Linked DNA regions of Homo sapiens: all the other regions are linked to region 3. The links are contacts of gene promoters, found by promoter capture Hi-C in blood cells and fetal thymus (Javierre and others, 2016). All regions are on one chromosome and are shown on one strand. The core of a region is centred on a gene start or on the middle of the fragment in contact, and the rest is flanking DNA. Distances in the headings are between cores, read along the strand shown.

Evidence for each region. Contacts are between HindIII fragments. The CHiCAGO score rates a contact against its expected background, and 5 or more counts as called.
Region 1: a contact is called between the fragment with the promoter of ADH5 here and the fragment with the promoter of SMARCAD1 in region 3, in 6 of 17 cell types (fetal thymus, non-activated CD4 T cells, total CD8 T cells and 3 more). The highest score is 16.5, in fetal thymus.
Region 2: a contact is called between a fragment that was not itself captured here and the fragment with the promoter of SMARCAD1 in region 3, in 1 of 17 cell types (naive CD8 T cells). The highest score is 9.0, in naive CD8 T cells.
Region 4: a contact is called between the fragment with the promoter of STPG2 here and the fragment with the promoter of SMARCAD1 in region 3, in 3 of 17 cell types (fetal thymus, activated CD4 T cells and total CD4 T cells). The highest score is 8.8, in fetal thymus.

What each region holds. Positions count from the first base shown.
Region 1 is chr4:99,087,168-99,090,242 of GRCh38, forward strand. It overlaps ADH5 (alcohol dehydrogenase 5 (class III), chi polypeptide), which reads right to left and starts at 1,621. Exons shown (of 9, transcript NM_000671.4): 1 at 1,522-1,621. The coding sequence starts at 1,533. It overlaps LOC100507053 (a long non-coding RNA gene), which reads left to right and starts at 1,690. Exons shown (of 10, transcript NR_037884.1): 1 at 1,690-2,117. RefSeq lists a promoter at 1,566-2,819 and a silencer at 1,604-1,653. The HindIII fragment of the contact is 7,789 bases long and covers 1,349-3,075 here.
Region 2 is chr4:98,997,087-98,999,855 of GRCh38, forward strand. All of the region lies in intron 1 of METAP1 (methionyl aminopeptidase 1), which reads left to right. MIR3684 (microRNA 3684) reads left to right here and starts at 301; the gene lies at 301-374. The HindIII fragment of the contact is 2,815 bases long and covers 1-2,745 here.
Region 3 is chr4:94,206,549-94,209,651 of GRCh38, forward strand. SMARCAD1 (SNF2 related chromatin remodeling ATPase with DExD box 1) reads left to right here and starts at 1,317. Exons shown (of 24, transcript NM_020159.5): 1 at 1,317-1,522; 2 at 1,798-2,036. The coding sequence starts at 1,847. SMARCAD1-DT (SMARCAD1 divergent transcript) reads right to left here and starts at 1,008. Exons shown (of 9, transcript NR_125922.1): 1 at 982-1,008. RefSeq lists enhancers at 936-1,295, 1,394-1,897. The HindIII fragment of the contact is 2,630 bases long and covers 758-3,103 here.
Region 4 is chr4:98,142,182-98,145,377 of GRCh38, forward strand. It overlaps STPG2 (sperm tail PG-rich repeat containing 2), which reads right to left and starts at 1,295. Exons shown (of 11, transcript NM_174952.3): 1 at 861-1,295. The coding sequence starts at 969. RefSeq lists an enhancer at 1,022-1,121. The HindIII fragment of the contact is 14,460 bases long and covers 1-3,196 here.

The DNA of each region.
Region 1 (3,075 bases), core at 371-2,870, 4.9 Mb after region 3:
GAGGTCAGGAGTTGGAGACCAGCCTGGCCACTATGGCGAAACCCCGTCTCTACTAAAAATACAAAAATACCGAGCATGGTGACGGGCGCCGGTAATCCCAGCTACTCGGGAGGCTGAGACAGGAGAATCGCTTGAACCCGGGAGGCAAAGGTTGCAGTGACCCAAGATCGCGCTATCGCACTCCAGCCTGGGAAACAAAGAGCGAAACTCCGTCTGAACTGGCGGGGGAGGGGGGGGGGAGGGAAATGGCCTCTGTAAATTGGTGAGGTTGGAAATGTGGAAATGATCGTTTTTAAAATTAAATTGCAGATATTAAATCTCATAGTACAAAGAATCAGACACTGCATTAGAACCTTTTTCATTTCAATGTGCCATAAATTTCAACTCCACAAGTCAGATTCAGAATACTAACAATTAAGTTATGCAACATAGGAATCCAAAGAAACAAGAATACTAAATTTGATGGCCTGCTCCCCTTTAAAAAATGTCTTAATGGAGCCTAACCTTTTCCTTTTACTGACAATTCTAAGCAAAACAAAGCCCCACTCTAAATCCGCGGGAAATGGCCCTACTTCAACATTTGAACTATAGTAACAATTATAATCTTTCACCTTCTCTGAATAAAGACACTCAGTAATAAGGAAAAGCAACTACCAGTTTAAGTCTGAAAGACTGTTTAGAGTTTATTTCTTTCAAACTCCAATATGTTTAAGGCCATTTGTCTTACTAGAAAATGTCCAAAATTGCAAAACATTAAAATAATCAGCAACTTTAGACTGAGTATGTTATTCGTAATTTCTGCCTTTCTTTACTGTCTAATTTGTATTTTATGAATTTGTCATAGAGGAGCAGACCTGGGTCGGAATCCCAGCTCGCCATCGTTGGTGTGACCAAGCACAACCAACCTCAAACCTCAGTTTTTGGTAAGATGGGGATAACACCTCGCAGAGGTGTTTGTTACGTGAGGACTAGAGGGAATATAAATCTCTTGGTATTTAAGTGCTCGAAAATGTTTCTGAAAGGGACGTAGGGGTCTTTCCAAAATACACTCCTTGGAGGCACAATAATTAAGGCGTAGGCTCAATTATGCAACACAAGCAACCTAGGAGTTAGAAGCACGGGATCTGGCTGCAGCTCTGCCAAGTATGCAAGCTGCAAGAATGACCCAGAGCGAGTTACTTAATTTCGTGTAAGAAGCAATGCGTGGCCGCTCCTAAGCCATTTCCACTGGGATACCGACCTGACCAGCCCCTGCCCCCCACTCTCCGGCTCTCCCACCCCCCCACCCCGTTCCGACTGTCCCAGAAGCAGCAAAGAAAGCTGCTTCCCAACTGAAGAGCCGAGACAAAGCTTCCTTCTCTTTCTGCCCCTCTGAGCCGCTCGCTGGGGGCCCAGTTTCAGAACCAAGAGCCAGATCCCGTCTTGGGCGCCGAGCCTCGCGCGCCCCCGAGGATAGCAGCCTAGTCCCATGCCATGCACTCCCTCCCTTGGACTCAGGGCCCTCCGCTCAACGGGCCCTACCTCGTTCGCCATGTTCACGGATTCTGGTCGGCGCGGGGGGCTGACATCCGGGGTGGGCCGCGCAGCGACGGAGGCATGGGCGTGGCGAGCGCCTAGCGAGGGGGGCGGGGCGTGGGGGGGGCTTGCAATGGCTCCAACCGGAAGGGCGGTGCTCGAGCTGTGGTGCGTGCCGCTAAGTTGTGCGTTCCAGGGTGCACTCGCCGGCGAGGCTGCACGGCGCCGGTTTCATTGCTAAAATCCGACGGACTTGTTGCAGAACTCGTTTTTTTTGTCGGGAAAGGGCTTCCCCGTGTAACTTTACAGCAGTTATCGTAGATAAGACTTGCAAATTACAGATGTGGACGGTGAGGGAACGGGAATTTCACTGAAAGCGCCTGAGAACCAGTAAGAGACCTGCAACAGCTTTGTGCTCCACTGGCGAATGCTTCCTCCCCTAATACACATTATGTGTGCTTGGAGACACAAGGAGTAAGATACAGCCCCTCAAGGGACTCGTCATAGGGAGAGGACACAGCTTTGGGAATAAAGGGGCCACAAAGGAGGAGAGAGGAGTTTGCTGAAACTTCCCAAGCTCCCATTCCAGCAGTTCCTGAAGGGTAGGTAGGATTTTGGGGAGACAGTAGAACGTGGGCAGAGAACTTTGGAAGGAGGAGATGAGGAGAACAAAAAGTCTCCTGATCCTGGACAGTTTTTTGTGTTAAGAGTGGGCCAGAGTGTAGAGAGAGAGAATGTAGTATTTGTCGGTTTACTCTTTCTTTGTTTGTTTGAGACGGAGTCTCGCACTGTCGCCCAGGCTGGAGTGCAGTGGCGCGATCTCGGGTCACTGCAACCTCCGCCTCCTAGGTTCAAGTGATTCTCGTGCCTCAGCCTCCTGAGTAGTTGGGATCACAGGCACACGCCACCACGCTGGCTCAATTTTGTATTTTTAGTAGAGATTGGGAGTGGGGGCAGGGGGTTGGTCTCACCATGTATGCCAGTCTGGTCTTGAACTCCTAACCTCAAGTGATTCACCCACCTCAGCCTCCCAAAGTGCTGGGATTACGGGCATGAGCCACCGCACCTGGCCTGCCAGTTTACTCTTAAACTCTGTTGTAAACGCTGAATTTTGTTAAAATAGCTCTGTCAGACACACTGCTCTTTTCTGTCTTTCAGTCTTTTTCTTGGCTCTTTTCCGGGTACATATGGTAAGATTGTCCAAAGTCTTTCCGTCCTTTCACTCCACTCTCTCACTCACACTTTGGCTTTTAACGTCTATTTATGGAAAGATGACTACCAGATTATTATCTCCAATCAGGATGGCTCCCCTAAACTCCAGACTTGGACATGTAACTGCCTACTGGATTTCTGTCTCCATTAGGATATCTCACAATCGAATGCAACTCCTAAAACTCCTATTAATATTTTCTCCTTATAGGGACTCTTTCCTCTGTGTGTTGACACTCTCCACATACTTACCCTAGCCAGAAACATGAGAGTCACAACTTCTCCCTCTCCCTCGGTCCCTGCATTCAGTTTGTCACCAAGCCCTAAATATCTCTCTGGTCTTGTGCCTCT
Region 2 (2,769 bases), core at 88-2,587, 4.8 Mb after region 3:
AAAGGATTCTAGTACGATTTAACTCTGCCATAAATAAAAATATGAATAAGAATGAAGGCAGATATATGAACACAATACAAATAATAAAAGTGTTTTCCAACATAAAACATAAAAACGTAAAGATATAAATAAATACAATCTTTACGTCACAATATTTGTAGATAAGCGATTGCAAAAGGTCTTAGCTGTGTTATACAGTCTTGTTTTTAGATAGGATATGATCCTTGACCTTGTTAGTATAATTTGGAAAAACTTGCACGTGGAGGAGTGTTGCTTGATCTAAAAATAGCATTACCGAACAATCTAAAGGACCTGTACTAGGTTTAACATGTTGAGCATTACTCATGTTAGACCTAGTACACGTCCTTTAGATTCTTTAAAATTCCCAAATTCTATCTTGTTGTGGCCTGTGTGGGACCTGAAATTAAGAAACAGTGTTTGCTTTTGACAGTTGTACCATCTGAGTAGAATAACTTTAAAAGTAGGTGGCATTTTGAATTAATATGTATTACAATCTTCTGTTAAGATTTTAAAAAGGTAGTGTGAAACCACATTCATGAAACAGGTAGAAAGAAGGTGAATCACTGGGGTTTGTGGAAAAATGCTAGACAAATTTGTGAAAACAAAACATCTAGGGTTTATTCCGTGTGTTAGGATTGGAGGTATTTACATGTTGGATTCTGCAGGTATATTTCTGGTATCACTGTTAGACATGCACTCAAATATTCCCAGAGTGGCTGTCCCAACTGTCTCTTTTTCTTCATTTCTGTTACCACCTCCTATGGTCAGCTTTTAAAATTTCCCACCAAATCAGTTGTCATACTCTCTTAATTTATTTCTCTACTGTAATTCCTCCCCTTGCAAACAAACGCCCACAAAAAACCCTATCAAACAAAACCTTTTGTACAGAAGTTATTTTTCCCGCAGTCTGATTATGCGTATCCCTCATTGCTTTCAGGATTCCAGCCCCACATTCAGGGCCCCTCTTCTGAGCCTCTTGCTCTAGCCAAAGGCTATGTTTACATTCTTTCCTTTCCGAAGTGTCACCTGTCTTCTGAAATCACAGCTGTTCCCCCAATCCCAGCTTGAGACCTTGATCAAGTCACTGTAACTTATTCTAAGCGCTTTATACATCTGTGATGAAATATGGGCTTGGCTGGGCATGGTGGCTCACACCTGTAATCTCAGCACTTTGGGAGGCCTAGGCGGGTGGATCACCTGAGGTCAGGAGTTTGAGACCAGACTGGGCAACATGTCAAAACCCTGTCTCTACTAAAAATACAAAAATTAGCTGGGCGTGGTGGCACACGCCTGTAGTCCCAGCTACTCAGGAGGCTGAGACACAAGAATCACTTGAACCTGGGTGGTGGAGGTTGCAGTGAGCCGAGGTTGCACCACTGCACTCTATCCTGGGCAACAGAGCAAGACTCCGTCTCAAGAAAAAAACAAAAACAAAACAAAACAAAAAACCAAAAAGAAGAAATTAGGGATTTTCCTTAACACTTCTGTGATCACTAGGAGGTCTTTCTTTCTACTGCTCTGGTCCCTGGCCTGGCTGTCTGGCCAGCTTGTCTTTGGGAACAAACAGAACAAAACTGCAAGAGGCCTTTCTATCACACCATTAACAGAAGTAAGGCATTCCCAGTTACTCTGTCACACCACCTTGTTTATTCCTTTATGACCTTTTGTGCAATCTATGATTACCTCACCTGTTAGAAAAATGAGGATTTTTTTTTTTTTTGAGACGGAGTTTCGCTTTTGTTGCCCAGGCTGGAGTGCAATGGTGCGATCTCGACTCACCGCAACCTCCGCCTCCCAGGTTCAAGCAGTTCTCCTGCCTCAGCCTCGCAAGTAGATGGAATTACAGGCATGCACCACCACGCTCAGCTAATTTTGTATTTTTAGCAGAGATGGGGTTTCTCCATGTTGAGGCTGGTCTCGAACTGCTGACCTCAGGTGATCCACCCTCCTTGGCCTCCCAAAGTGCTGGGATTACAGGCGTGAGCCACCATGCCCGGCCGAGAATGTCTGTTTTTTAGTCGGAAGGTGAACTTCATGAATGATCCTATCTTGTTCACTGCCCTGTTCTCATTTCCCAGTATGATGCTCTGTATGCAGTAGGTGGCCATTAAATGTTTGAATTAATGGATAAATGCATCAAAATAGAGAGGTATACTGCTGTGTTTGAATCACAGCTCCATCATTTACTAGTTATGTGACTTGGGCAAATAACCTCTCTTTTTCAGCTGTATCTTTTTAAAATGGGGCTATTAATAATACCTATCTCAGGGTTTTGATGAAGACTAAATCCAAAGTATGTAAAGCTCTTAGCATATTAGTAAACTTAATGAATGTTAGCTCTTTTTATTGTTATACTGTTTTATGTTTAGGAAAGTAGAAATATTTTATCTAGGATGCTTAATTTTTTTTTTTTTTTTTTTTGAGACCGAGTCTTGCTCTGTCACCCAGGCTGGAGTGCAGTGGTGTGATCTCGGCTCACTGCAACCTCTGCCTCCCGGGTTCAAGCGATTCTGCTGCTTCAGCCTCCCCAGTAGCTGAGATTACAGGTGCGCACCACCACGCCTGGCTAATTTTTTTGTATTTTTAGTAGAGACGGGCTTTCACCGTGTTAGCTAGGATGGTCTGTAACTCCTGACCTCGTGATCCGCCTACCTCAGCCTCCCAAAGTGCTAGGATTACAGGCATGAGCCACTGTGCCAGCCTAGGATGTTTGATTTTAAGGAAAGCTTTTGTTCTTTAGAGGAGTAC
Region 3 (3,103 bases), core at 67-2,566:
GTACGAAAATACAGTTTGAATGAATAAGATCTAGTATTTGATAGCACAATAGCATGACTACAGTCAACAACAATTTATTGTACTTTTTTTTTTGAGACAAGAGTCTTGCTTTGTTGCCCAGGGTGGAGTGCAGTGGAGTGATCTCGGCTAACTGCAACCTCCGCATCCCAGGTTCAAGCTATTCTCCTGCCTCAGCCTCCCGATTAGCTGAGATTACAGGCGCCCGCCACTACGCCCGGCTAATTTTTTGTATATTTAGCAGAGACGGAGTTTCACCATGTTGGCTAGGCTGGTCTCAAACTCCTGACCTTGTGATTCACCTGCCTCAGCCCCCCAAAGTGCTGGGATTACAGGCGTGAGCCACCACTCCCAGCTTATTGTACATTTTTAAATGACTAAAATAACTGGATTGTTTGAAACACAAAGGATAAATGCTTGTTATGGATACCCCACTTACCCTGATATGATTATTACACATTGCATGCCTGTATCAAAATATCTCATGTACCCTATAAATATGTACACCTACTATGTACCCGCAAACATTAAAAATTAAAATATTTTTAAAAAATTAATTAATTAATCAAATTCCATTCTAAGAACAATCAAGCCGAAAGTGAGGAATTACTTTAAATGCTTTGAAGCTCAGCATCCCGGGGTTCTTATCCGTCACTAATTACCTATACATTTGCAGGTCTCAGTTTCTTTGCTTTGTAAACATAGGCTTCTTGTAAGGATTGGGATTATACACTGAAAAAGCTTAGCACAGTATTATTACTATTATGCTATCTACATTATATTATAGGTGAAACACTACAGATTATAATACATACAATATATACTAATTGTATTATATATTGTTATTTTTTGTCATTATGCTATTTACTATTGTTCTATTTAATAACTCTCTAGATAATTTAACAGGACAAAGGTACAGAACAATCTGGCCCTTACAAGCCGGCGGAGACGGGTACGAATTACCATGACAACAGCGCGCGCCTCGACATTGTCGGCTCGCGCGTTGTTTGGGAAGAAAAAGCCTAGGCTGCGTGTTGCGTCATCATTACGCGCTCTTAAGGTTTCTCCGTGGTGTTTTGGAAGGTCCCGGCACGGCTACCGTCGCCCCACGCTAGGAAATTTTTTTTTTATTTTCAACCTTTGTTACATAGCACTGAGGCTACAAGATCGTAAGTACTGAGGGAAGAAAGAACAAGCGAGCGATTGAACGTTAAAAAGATGCCTTAGCATGCACTCCACCTCTGAACCTTCCTGTGTGTTCTTAATCCTATCAGCTTCCTCTCAGCTGGGATCGCGCCGCGTCAACTTCCGGGCGGATGCCCGCCAGCACGGCCTCCGCCGCTCCCCTTCTTTGGCCCCTTTGTGTCCCCGCAGTGTCGAGGCGCGGGCCCTGGCAGGTCCTTTCTCGAGGCAGGGGGCACGGTAGCACAGGGAGCTTCTCTTTGTGGGCGGGCGCGAGGCCCGCTAGGGGGTTATACTGGGGAACGTGCCTGCGCGTGCTTGGGTAAGAGGAGGTTGCATGAGGGTCAGCTCGTGGTTTCAGTAAGGAGGGGCGGGCGGGGGAGGCGGACGAAGGGGAGTGAAAAGCAATGGAAAATTTTAAAAGATACCCCCGTCCACCTTCTAATTGTTGCGGCCTAACAATGAAGCGCAGCCATAACAGTCCTGAGCCACTGGCATGTTTGCGGGCCCTTTATTGCCTTGGGAATAAACTGCTGTGGCATTGTATCGTATATTGTTTTCATGGCCTTTTTTCCTCTCTTTATTTTTCCCCTGCAGATAGTTCATTTAAAGCCCCCATCCCTGCAAGGTGGTGCTTTCTACCAATATGAATCTTTTCAACCTGGACCGTTTTCGCTTTGAGAAAAGGAATAAGATTGAGGAAGCGCCCGAAGCAACCCCTCAACCTTCCCAGCCTGGCCCTTCTTCACCAATTTCTCTTAGTGCTGAAGAGGAGAATGCTGAAGGGGAAGTTAGCAGGGCAAACACTCCTGATTCAGATATAACTGAAAAAACAGGTGAGTTACAATGTTAAAATTGATGTAACATCAAGGACAGTTTTTAAAAGATGAAAGGCAGAAGGGATTCTCATTTTTATTCTTGATGTCATATATATTGATGCATTGTCCTGCGGTGTGCCCTTTTAAATACAGCTTTGGGACTGCCATAAGCACCATGTACCCTCAACTGAGCATCCATCCATTGTCGCCTCACTTTTATATGAGTTCTTCGAATATGGCCCCATGGTGGAAGTTGAAATTAGAATTTAGGGCATCCATAGGTCAGAACGGTTGCTATTGGAAGAGCGATGTCAGTGATTCAGTCCTATGATAAACTTTGAGGCTATTTGGGCAGACATTTTCATTCATTCCAGTATTCCCTCAAAATATTGATCATCTACTGTGAGCTAGACATTGAGCAAGGTGCCTAAAGACAACCTCTGTACACAAGGGAAGATCAGATCACATCAAGTTCTTGCATCCACCTGACTTCCTGGATGTCCTCAGAATGCAAATGAGTAATTGGTATTCTTCATGGTGAATGAACATTTTTAACCTCATCAGCAGATTGTCAGAGACAAAAGTATTTGAGGATAAGCCAAAAATTAAGATTTCCACTCGAATCTATGTTCATTGAACAGTTAACTATTAGAGGAATATATTTGAGCTCTTGTTGTATTATAGGAATAGTGATAAGTGCTTCACCTTCTGTCATTTAATTTGCACAATAATCCTACAAGGTAGATATTACTGACATAGAGGTTAATGTGAAATGAGATTCAGAGAGGTTATTAGGAACTTGGTAGAGCCTGAACTCAAGTCCTGGCAGTATGATTCCTGAGCATAAACTAATTAGTTAGTTTCTTAGGAAAGGTGAAAGGAATGTTGGAAGTTATATTTTAATATTTATTTCAGTAATATCTTTTTTTATGCAAAACTCTGTTTCGTAAACAGCTTTTAACTTAATGTAGCCTGAAAGATTGGTAACACACATGTTTATCCTTGGTATCTTTTTGTTTGCCACCCTTCTACTTAAATGTAATAATGATGGCAGATCCTCTGCAAGTTATCATTAGAATAACATT
Region 4 (3,196 bases), core at 45-2,544, 3.9 Mb after region 3:
ACACTGACAGAAGTCAAATTTGTACTCCACCCCAAGAAACCTAAACCTTCCCTTATCTGATCAGTTATGTAACAGAATAATGGATCCTGGCATTTGCTTGAAAATACATAGTGTAGGTATGGGGAAAATGTAGGTTAAGAAAAACTATCATTTGGACGGTATTAAGCTCCAGAAAATCACCAGAATAGAAAAAGTAGAAAGCAAAATTGATGTATTTATTTTTGACTAAGTCACTAACTGCAAACAAACGAGGAGAGCAAATATTATTTAAATTATCCATCCCCACTCCACTGGTCAAAAATATAATTTTTCTTTACAGAATGTGGAGAAAAGGGGCTCCCCTGAAGTGTGTTAAAAGAGATGAGGACGGTCAGAAAAATCTGTCTGAAAAAAAAACGGAACTATCTTTAAATAATACTGCAAAATAGAAATATAAGCTACATCTTAATAAATAAATGTCTCTGGTTAATGGGAGGAAAGATGTGAGGCAGGCAGGATTACAAAGCAACGAGACAGCGGGAGGTAAGGGCACAGGATTTGGAGACTCATATATTATGTCAACACAGCCAGGAAATCAAAATCCTAGACCTAAACTGCACAATCAAAAGTAGGATGTAGACAACTATTGCGGAATCAAAAGTCCTAGCCATATGCTCACCAGCCTTTTGAAATGGGACAAGTGATACTATCAGTCTCATCTGTAAAATAAAAGTATAGTGTTTTCCCTGCCTACTTCATGTTTTGTTATGTTTACAAAATGGTACTATTCCGCTCTATGTTTAACTCACAAGCACGCAGAAGCGGAGCAGGCTGAAGATAGGATGCCTGTCACAGGAGCTCTGCCTCTTCCTACATCTTACCTGTCGCCTGCTGCTTCAGGAAAGGTACCTGGTAGGATCCAGGACCCACATGGGCCTCAGTGCTGCCACCTTCAGCCAATTTGAGCAGGCGGGGAGCCCGATCATACATAGTGCTCGGGGTGGTGGGGGCGCTGGGGAAGGGCAGGTGCCGAAAACGATAAAAACAAGGTAGCTAGAAGTGTGGAGAAAAAGGAAGCCGACACCAGTCTGAGGAGGCCGGGAAAGAACTTCCGTAAACAGGGAAATTAGGGGTGGGGTTGTCTCCCCGCCCGCTCATTGATACCAGATTTCCTCAAATCGATTTCTAGCTCTGTGGTAAAGTAGAGGGGTGAGCGACTAGAGATTAGACGTCCCACACAATCATCAGTTTGCCAGGTGCACGCCACCAAAATTGGGTATTAGGGATTAGACGCTCGCCCCGGTGCTTCCGGCCCTGACTCCGCCCACTTCTCTCCGCCCGGAAGCCTGGGGAGGAGGCGGGCCCAGTCTCTGGGGAGGAGGCGGGCCCAGTCTCTAGGGAGCGAAGTGGAGGTGCCTTCCTGGGCCGAGCCCTCGGAGCATGCGCACCGAGCAGCCACCCTTTCCCGGCTCTTTTTACCCGGAACCCGGCGCGCCTTGAAGAAGGCAGGCCTAAACCTCGTAGCTCTTGGGGTCCCGGTAACTACTTAGGTCCCGAACTTTTTTAAGTATGCAGAAGAACCTTAGAAAACGCGTTAGGAAGGGTGAGGACTAACTTGACCTTGATCTGCTTCCCGACTCAACAGAACCTAGTAAAGAAAAATGCAGTAGCATGAAGCAGAGAGCTTGGGGTTCCGCAAGCTCTCCCCCGCTTCTACTGCAGCCCCACTCGTACTCACAGAGAAAAGGCACCTCTGATCTTAACCTGTAGATAGTCCAAACTGCTAAGACAAACCCAGGGCTCAGGGCAGTGACAAGAAATGGAGAACCCAGAAAAAAAAATAACAAATAAGATAAGGGTAAAAAAGAAAAAAAAAAAAAAAGAAATGAGGACACCAGGCAAGGAGGCGAAAAGCTCACCAACTGAAGCCGTGGAAGTGACTGAAAGCTGCCTCTTTTGTCGTATGCCAGGTAACCACAATACTGATTCATCAATATTTAAAAAGCAAAGCGAAGGCACTGAAAAAGCCCAGTCCACCCCACCAAACCAATGATTCTGAACCTTGGGCAAAAGAAACCTTGCTTGTCCTTGGGGCTTAAGGAATCTATGTCAGAATCCACCTCTGCATCTCGCAGGCTGTTTTTTCTAGCAAGAATTCTGTCCAGATTATAAATATCCTCAGAGGCTTAGACAAATCCTACCTTGATCATACCTCACCTCCAAATGGTCTACAGTACGTTAATTTGTTCCTACTACAAGTTTTTATAGTTTTCATACTCTGTAATACACGATTTGCCACTCAATCCTGTGCAACATTTACTGTGGCTTCATTGTGCCATATAGGTCGGAACCCTCTCCTTGCGAGGCTATATGCTTCTCAAGGATGTATCTGTAGTACCTTTTTTTCTGTTCAATAGCTAGCTAAATTATTTATGCACTTAAAAAACACGAATTGGCATATACTGTAGGTTCCATCCCTGCTAAGTTATGAGGATACAAAGGCATAAGAAAGTCCCTGCCCTCAGGTGTTCTCTCTCTAATGGGGAAAGAGACGTATAATCCAAAACGAGAGGTGGCAAAGATTTTTTTTAATGGTAGGAAAATGAATATTGCAATATTTTGGAAACATCTCACCAACTTCGATTCTCCCTGCATTCTGTCAGAAACCCTCATAATTCTCTCAATGTTGTTTTAACCTTATTTTCCAAGCTGCCACCTATACCCATTCAGAAGATCTAGATATTTACTATGACATATTAGAAAGAGTCACAGAGATGAAAGAGAAAAATTCATGTGCTGTGTATGATAATCCAGTGGTGCTTGTAAATTTGCCCGCTATGTCCTTAAGGACATCATTTGACCTTGATGATCCAAACAAGGATATCAACCCAAACTGCATACTCAGGTCTAGGCCATGGTTGCCGTAAGCATTGATGCAGAATTTCAAGCCCTGTCTGGCCATTCTGTCTGCAGTAGTCTACATTACTCTTTGCTTGAATATACATATTTTTGGAGATTGGAAATGGAAATGGTAAAGCTGGCTTTATATGCTTTCTGTCTGATTTGATTTTCAGCCATTGAATGTAACCTAATTTAGACAAAGGGAGTTCTTCATAGCACCCTTCCTAGCTCATTTGCAGACCTCTATGGGAGAGTTTCTGAGTACCAGCTAGGAAAACACTGTTTATTTACCTTGCCTGCCTCCTGAGTGAATGCT